3 separate regions of the Homo sapiens genome follow, and all the other regions are linked to region 2. The links are contacts of gene promoters, found by promoter capture Hi-C in human tissues and cell types (Jung and others, 2019). All regions are on one chromosome and are shown on one strand. The core of a region is centred on a gene start or on the middle of the fragment in contact, and the rest is flanking DNA. Distances in the headings are between cores, read along the strand shown. Region 1 overlaps ZNF37A (zinc finger protein 37A). Region 2 holds the start of ZNF248 (zinc finger protein 248). Region 3 overlaps LOC105376500 (a long non-coding RNA gene).

The links. Contacts are between HindIII fragments. The study calls those that stand out against the background at their distance.
Region 1: a contact is called between a fragment that was not itself captured here and the fragment with the promoter of ZNF248 in region 2, in 2 of the 25 tissues and cell types used here (H1 embryonic stem cells and mesendoderm cells).
Region 3: a fragment that was not itself captured here is called in contact with the fragment with the promoter of ZNF248 in region 2 in 1 of the 25 tissues and cell types used here (spleen).

What each region holds. Positions count from the first base shown.
Region 1 is chr10:38,115,792-38,118,491 of GRCh38, forward strand. ZNF37A (zinc finger protein 37A) reads left to right here. Exons shown (of 8, transcript NM_001324250.3): 8 at 1,599-2,700. Among named protein-coding and RNA genes, the nearest start is that of ZNF37A, 23 kb to the left of the region's middle. The HindIII fragment of the contact is 8,527 bases long and covers 1-2,700 here.
Region 2 is chr10:37,856,320-37,859,019 of GRCh38, forward strand. It overlaps ZNF248 (zinc finger protein 248), which reads right to left and starts at 1,291. Exons shown (of 6, transcript NM_021045.3): 1 at 866-1,291; 2 at 116-213; 3 at 1-18. ZNF248-AS1 (ZNF248 antisense RNA 1) reads left to right here and starts at 1,430. Exons shown (of 2, transcript NR_186559.1): 1 at 1,430-2,182. RefSeq lists an enhancer at 784-843 and silencers at 1,161-1,537, 1,234-1,783. The HindIII fragment of the contact is 12,949 bases long and covers 1-2,700 here.
Region 3 is chr10:38,163,613-38,166,312 of GRCh38, forward strand. LOC105376500 (a long non-coding RNA gene) reads right to left here. Exons shown (of 3, transcript XR_930832.3): 2 at 737-807. Among named protein-coding and RNA genes, the nearest start is that of ZNF37A, 71 kb to the left of the region's middle. The HindIII fragment of the contact is 4,379 bases long and covers 1-2,700 here.

The DNA of each region.
Region 1 (2,700 bases), core at 116-2,615, 260 kb after region 2:
TAATCCTAGGTCTTTGGGAGGCTGAGGTGGGAGGATCACTTCAGCCCAGGAATTTGAGACCAGCCTGGGCAAAATAAGAAGACCCCATCTCTATGAAAACTTAAAAAATTAGCCAGGCATGGTGGCACACACCTGTGGTCCCATGCCTGGCTAATTTTTGTGATCTCAGCTACTGGGGAGCTGAGGTGACAGTCTTGCTTTAGCCTGGGAAGAGGCTGCAGTTAACTGTGTTTGTGCCATTGCACTGCAGCCTGGGTGACAGAGCAAGATTCTGTCTCTAAAAAATAAAAAGCAATTAAAATTAAAATTACACATTCAACCAGTAACGATTTCAGCGTGAAGCCTGAAAAAATTTGTGTTTGAAAAAGCTCTCCGGATAATACTGATAAACATTATTTGTTAAGTACCATTGATTTAAATATCTATATAGGGCACTGAGAGAAAATCATAGGTAAAGTAATGGCTGCCAGGAACATAGTTGTTGAACAAAAACAGAACTGCATGAAATATTTTAAAATTCAGTGTTTAACAAAGAATATTGTTATAGCAATCCAGCTGATGTTTGTGCTTAAATGAATTATAAAAACAGTCCTTTCATGTTTTTTAGTAAATGAACCTGGGAAATTTGGGAAGGAAACTTTTTAAAAACACTGTTAGACTGCAAACTGACAATGGAAAAACAATCAGTATGAGATTATGATGGGAATGAGCAATTTATGAGGGACAAACAGCTGAACTTACCTAGAGCGAAATATATTCACTCTAGACTTGTAAAAGAATGGCTTGGTTCTAATCTGAATCTAAATGTAAAGATATGTTTACTTCAGTGATACCTTGTTTAAAAAAAAAGTGTTTGTTCTTGGGACATTGGACTCAGTATAGTATAGGACAGTTGATGAAATAAAGGGCAAATCCCACAGCTGGAATAGAACCATAAACCTGATCCTGTGGCAAGGATGGCTTGTTCACTCACTGATTTCACTCTTATTGTTGCATACTTTTATTTCTAGTGAATCAGAGCTAGAAAAACAATTGAGCCAGGTGCAGTGGCTCATGCCTGTAATCCCAGCACTTTGGAAGGCCAGTGTGGATGAATTGTTTGAGGCTAGGAGTTCAAGACCAGCCTGGCTAACATGGCAAAATCCTGTCTCTACTAAAAACATAAAAACTAGCCAAGCATGGTTGCGTATGCCTGTAGTCCCAGCTACTTGGGAGGTTGAGGCATGGGAATCACTTGAACCCAGGAAGCGGAGATTGCAGTGAGCCGAGATCACGTCACTACACTCCAGCCTGGATGACAGAGCAAGACTCTGTCTCAAAAACACCACCACCACCACCACCAACAACAACCAAGAACAACAAAACCACACAGAATTGGAGCCTGGATTATAGGACTATGAATTAGAACTTTTAGAAATTTAATTTGTTGCTGCTGTGTTGACTTGAAAAGAGGTATAAGACTGGAAGTGTGCACATTGTCATAACATAGGTATGAGGAGATAATGGCCTAAACTGAGCCATGCCTTCAAATATAATGCTAAGTTTATTTCTCTTACATATCCTCGTCAACTAACCTTTCTTTTCACTCTGTATTTCAGAATTAATTAATACCAGTAGAAACTATTCAATAATGAAGTTCAATGAGTTTAACAAAGGTGGAAAATGTTTCTGTGATGAAAAGCATGAAATAATTCATTCTGAAGAGGAACCTTCTGAATATAATAAAAATGGGAACAGCTTCTGGCTGAATGAAGACCTCATTTGGCATCAGAAAATTAAAAATTGGGAACAATCTTTTGAATACAATGAATGTGGGAAAGCTTTCCCTGAGAATTCACTCTTCCTTGTACATAAGAGAGGTTACACAGGACAGAAAACCTGCAAATATACTGAACATGGGAAAACCTGTGATATGTCATTTTTCATCACTCATCAGCAAACACATCCAAGAGAAAACCACTATGGTAATGAATGTGGAGAAAATATCTTTGAGGAATCCATTCTCCTTGAACATCAGAGTGTTTACCCATTCAGCCAGAAGTTAAATCTCACTCCAATTCAGAGAACCCACTCAATTAACAATATTATTGAATATAATGAGTGTGGAACATTTTTCAGTGAAAAATTAGTCCTTCATTTACAACAGAGAACACATACAGGAGAAAAACCTTATGAATGTCATGAATGTGGAAAAACCTTCACCCAGAAGTCAGCCCACACAAGACATCAGAGAACACACACAGGGGGAAAACCCTATGAATGTCATGAATGTGGGAAGACCTTCTATAAGAATTCAGACCTCATTAAACATCAAAGAATTCATACAGGGGAGAGACCTTATGGATGTCATGAATGTGGGAAATCCTTCAGTGAAAAGTCAACCCTTACTCAACATCAAAGAACGCACACAGGGGAGAAACCATATGAATGTCATGAATGTGGGAAAACCTTCTCATTTAAGTCAGTCCTTACTGTGCATCAGAAAACACACACAGGGGAGAAGCCCTATGAATGCTATGCATGTGGGAAAGCCTTTCTCAGAAAATCAGACCTCATTAAACATCAAAGAATACACACAGGTGAAAAACCTTATGAATGTAATGAATGTGGGAAGTCATTCTCTGAGAAGTCAACCCTTACTAAACATCTAAGAACTCACACAGGTGAGAAACCTTATGAATGTATTCAGTGTGGAAAATT
Region 2 (2,700 bases), core at 41-2,540:
TTAGTGGAGGAAGGAGAGCTGAAGGATTAGAAAGGAAGAATGTCAGGAGAGCCTTCGCCGGCCTTGCAGTTCGGAGATTCACCTGCCTATACAGGTCCACACACAAGATACTTACGTGTCCATGTGTGGCTCCGATATATGCTGAGCTCAGACATGACACTTTTCACTGAGTGAATGTAAATATTTCTTATTGATTTATTACCAATTTAGGTTCTGTGACACAGAAAAATTAAAAACATGAAAAGATGAGTTTAACAAGTTAACAGTAATCTGAAGGAAAAAACACTATGGGTTTGTCAAAATTCCTTGTAGGGAAAAAAAAAAACTGAGGCCATATTGTTTATCTGTTTACCTGTTAACACCATTAATGCCCTGAGGTTAGATAATGCAAAAGACCTCTAAAAAAAGGGATAGGATGTTAAATGCAAGTTTAAAAATGTTTGTTCTAACTTGCTAACAATTCCTCAAAAGGATCTTTTAATGAGAAACTGTGATATAGAGTAACAAAATGGGCAGCAGTGGCTCGGGAAACTGCAGACTTGACTTCTAATCTCAGTTCTGCCTCTAAGGAATGACAAGATCTGAACTACTCACCTCCTCAAACTCAATTTTGTTTTTCCATCTTTCAAATAAGGTCAAAACAGATAACCCAAGTATGACCTGACTGCACTACCATCCGGCGGGGATATCAGGCCAAGAGAGGAGGAAGCTCAGCAGCTCATCTGGATGTGCCCGGTGTTCGCGGAGGGGTGATAACAGCATTTCTTTCGCTGTGGCCGTGAGCCTTTCACCCGTCCCTGCCCTCAGACTCTCCAGAGGTGACGTTCCTGTTAGCCTGCGCGCCCACCCCTCAGCTCCAGCTCACCTCTCTCTTCTTAAATTTGTCCCAGACCTTGCACCAGCACACAGACTCCGACGGCTTCAGGATACTGTGCCATGATTACACATAATACATAAGCGAACGCGAAACGTGTAAATAATTACTTGGGATAGGAGGGCGGTCAGAGCCAGCAGGGGCCCTGGTGGTCAGCTAGGCCAGCCCCTTCGCTCCTGCACTCCACGGGCAGAGAGGCCCTTGGGGCCGGTGCAGGAGCCGTCTCCCTCGGGCTCTCCCAGGGAACGCACACCCAATAAATACAGCACCTAAACAATGAAAGTGCTCAAAACAACCCCAGGCGGCAAGTATTCCTAATATCCGTAATTTACAGAGAGGAAAACCGAGTCTCCCGTGGATAATTGTGTCTAATTCATTTGTCGCGGACCTGGCGCAGTCGCTCTCCCCCGCAGCCCCGCCTCCTCCCCGCGGGCTCAGGGCACAAAAAGCGCACACGCACACATCAAACGCCATGCGCACGCGCACAACAAACGTCACACGCTACGCACGCGCGTGCTGTCCCCTCCCCGCAGCCAGTTCCCTCCCCTTCGGGCCAGTGCGCATTGCCTACCCCGTGCTACAGGACTTCGCTGAGCGCCAGGCGCAGGGACTGGACGCATACGGACCCCCGGGAGCCCCGGAACTCGCGTTCCCACGCCAGACCTCATCCCCTTCTGACAGAGACGCCCTCGTCCCACCGTCGCCGCAGGCGCCAGGGGTCCCTCCCCACCGCCGAGGTCTAGCCGCCGCCCGCCCGCCTTCAGGGCAGCGCGGGGACCCCCTGGCCCTCGCCCAGTGCTCCGGGGCTCACCCGCCGCTCCTCGCCGCCTCCGGAGGCGAGGGATTGTTTCCCACAAGGGACTGGAGTCCAGGGAAGGACTCGCCTGGAGCGGGAGGCGGGGATGCACATGCGCAGAGGGAGAGGCCGAGCGCCCGAGTTAGGCTGGTGGATGCGATGCGGGGCTTGGAAGCGGCGCTAGACGGTGCCTGTCAGCTCTGGCCGCAACCCTCAGTTGTAAAATGAGGCTGATAGTGCCTACCTAGCAGGGGTTTTATGAGAATTGGAGGCGCTTACGTTGTAAAAGCATTTAAACCGGTGTCTGACACATAAATTGTTCAGTATATTTCTCACAATTATATATCATGCTGGTCATCATAAGGCTCTCCTGCAAAACAGCCTTGTATAGTGGGTTGAGAGATTACTGTCTCAGTTACCCACTCCTGCTTGGAACCAGGATTCTGTCAGTGTCCCCAGAGGTTGTGGATCAAATCAATGTGCCTGTTAGACACAAGCCAAGAGAAGGAAAGGTGTGCTTGAATTCATTCACGATCATGCATGGTAACGTTTAACTGAAAGACTGGAAGAGAAAACTAAAATCTGTGACCAGTATGGTTATTCTCTGGAATAAGGAAAAACAGAAGCTAGCAATTCAAGACCCAAACATAAAATTGTTTATATGTTTAAAAAAAAAAAAGCCGTTTGAGTAACAAATTTGAAGAAGAAAGCACGCACTCATTTCCCAAAACCAACCATACTTTACCCAGAACTACACTACACGTACATTCTTTTACGTGCACATCTGGCATTTTCAGCACACTATGAGCATGTGCGTGTGTTACAACTTTTCATTTAAAAAATCAACTCCTGGGTCATTGTCCACTTTTTTAAACTTTTCATTTGCTCATAATTTCAGATTTACAGAAGAGTTGCAAAATAGTTCCTATATGCCTTTCACCCAGATTCCACTAGTGTTAGTATTTTACATGACCATGGTATATTTATCAAAACTAAGAAAATAACATAGGTACAAGTACTATTAACTGAA
Region 3 (2,700 bases), core at 106-2,605, 310 kb after region 2:
CTGAAAGCTGAGTCATGAAAGAAGCTGCCTTTCCTTGGCTTTGTAAGCAGTTACAGATAAAAGTTTAAACATTTCCACAGGTAGCTACCCTGTTCATCTTATCTAATCAAGTGCTGATTTATTGAGCATAAGATCAGTACATAATTGACTATTTCCCTACGTGCTCCTTTTCTCTTGCAACATGAGGATCACCACACACTTCCTGTTTCCTCTCTAGGTCACTTTTCCTTTTTAAATATTGAAGCCCTCAAAATCATCTTTAGAGAAAAATCACAGACCACAGACTGTGTCTGTGATTCTGTGTTTATTTCTCCTGGGCATGTTCTTAACCTTGGCAAAATAAACTTCTACACTGATTGAGACCTGGCTCAGATACTCTTTGGTTTTACAATTGCTATGGTCTTAATGTATCCCTCAAAATGTATCTGTTAGAACTCTAATCCCTAAGACAGCAGTGTTGGGAGCTGCAGCCTAATGGAGGTGTTTAGGTCAAAAAGGCACTTTTTATTTGGAAAACTGATAAAAGAAAGAATAAATTATTTATCTATTCTGCATTTCCCATATGTGGGTGTTATCTACTACCCTGCAGTAGATGAGGGGGATGTTACTTTTTATATACATATAAAATAGTTATGTCTTATATAAGTATAAAAAAGGCTTGATGGATTGGGTTTACTTTTTGTCACTCTTCTGTCATGTGAGCACATCACATCCATCCTCTCTCCCTTTCACCTACCTCCATGTGAGAATGTAGTAGGAATACCCTCTCCAGAGGCCTCTTGATTTTGGACTTCCCAGCCTGCGGAACTGTGAGAGAATAAATTTCTGTTCTTTATGAGTTACCTAGGTTCAGGAACTCTGTTATAGCAACAGAACCCTCCCAACTGGAGTTCTTCAGCACACCCCAGTCCATCCCCTCGCTAACTCCCCCACCTGTCCAGTCTTATCTGCCTTTATATCAAAAGCCCACAGCTAACCCAGAGGGCTTCAGCCCTGCCCTGCCTTTCTAGGAAACCCCCCTCTCCACCCACCCTGATCAAGACACTGTCTGAAGTTTCCCCCTCATGATTTAAAAAAAAGAAATTTATCTGACAGAGGTTCTGCTGAGGAGGCCAGCTCTCACATCAGAGGGTGATGGCAGTTTGTGCTGGATGAGGATAAGACAATGCTGTCCTAGGGCTGGCCATCTGATAAAGCTTCCCAGAAAGTGCAGTAATGGACCCCTGGGAGGCTTTCTGCTCTCCTGTCTGCGGGTTCCTGGTGAGAGGACCTATTGGCCACTAAGGTGTCTGAATATGTGTCTGTGTGTGTGTGTGTGTGTGTGTGTGTGTGTGTGTCAGAGTGATGTGTGTGTTCTTGGCTTGATTTCTTTCAGCATGAAGCCCACTGTTTTGCTGAATGTATCTGTTTCCTGAAACTCAGTGCATTCAGCTGGCTCAAGGGTCCTGGGGCCTTACTGTGTCATATTTGCACAAGCCTTGTGTCTGTGCAGACTGTACACTGGAGTTCAGTTGTAAAACCCTTTTTCTCCCTTATCCTGACACAGTAATAGAAAAGCCATTTCATTCAATGGAATAGAAACCCAGATCTAATGGAGAGATGGTCTAATCTGCCATACATTGGAGCAGTATCCAGTGATTTGGACTTTGTGGCATTGATGGAAATTTCCAGGTTCTCTAGGTGGTGGGCAGAGACCTCACTTTTTAAGAAACTCTCCACCCCTGCCAATGAGGACACTGCTTGAGGACATTCCTGTCAATGTTAAGTAGAAGAGATTGTTTCTTTTCTTTTTCTTTCTTTTTTTTTTTTGTTTAGACAGAGTTTTGCTCTTGTTGCCTAGGCTAGAGAGCAATGGCCTAGTCTCGGCTCACTGCAACCTCTGCCTCCCGGGTTCAAGTGATTCTCCTGCCTCAGCCTCCCGAGTAGCTGGGATTACAGGGGCACACCAACATGCCCGGCTAGTTTTTGTATTTTTAGTAGAGGTGAGGTTTCACCATGTCGGACAGGCTGGTCTCGAACTTCTGACCTCAGGCAATCCACCCGCCTCAGCCTCCCAAAATGCTGGGATTATAGGCGTGAGCCACCACTCCCAGCCAAGAGATCATTTCTTGATGTTGAATTTCAGGTAAGGGAGCCAGCTCCTGAATACTGCCAGGTGCTTGGGCTGAGACAGGTCTAGACAGCACTGTCTGAAAATGGGCTCAAGGAAGTAGCTGTGAAAGGGCCCTGGGATGTTTTCTGCTCCCCTCTCTGCAAATGTCCTGGAGGGACATCCTGTTAGTCACTTTGCGGGGTGTGTGTGTGTGTGTGTGTGTGTGTGTGTGTGTTCATCAGTTGGTTTTATGTTTTTGCTTTTCTTCATGAAATCTGCAGAGCTGCCAAAAGTACCTTGATGTTTTCTGAAAGCAGAGCCAATGACCACACTCCAGGGACTGAGTTCTCAAATGTATGGTATTTGCTAAGGACGGGTGTTTACCTGCAGATAGTGTGATGGGGTTCAGAGCCAAGGAACACTAGTTTCTGTGCCCTGTTTCTATGTTAAAAAGACATTTCGTTCAACTGGATAACAGGGCAATTCTGGTGGAGAAAAGGTCTATTCTGCCATAGGATGGGGCAGCAGCCTGCAGTTCAGAACACTGGTGTGTGTCTGGAGATTTCCAGGAACTCCAGCTGCTGGTAGAGGCCCAGAAGGTAGGGGGC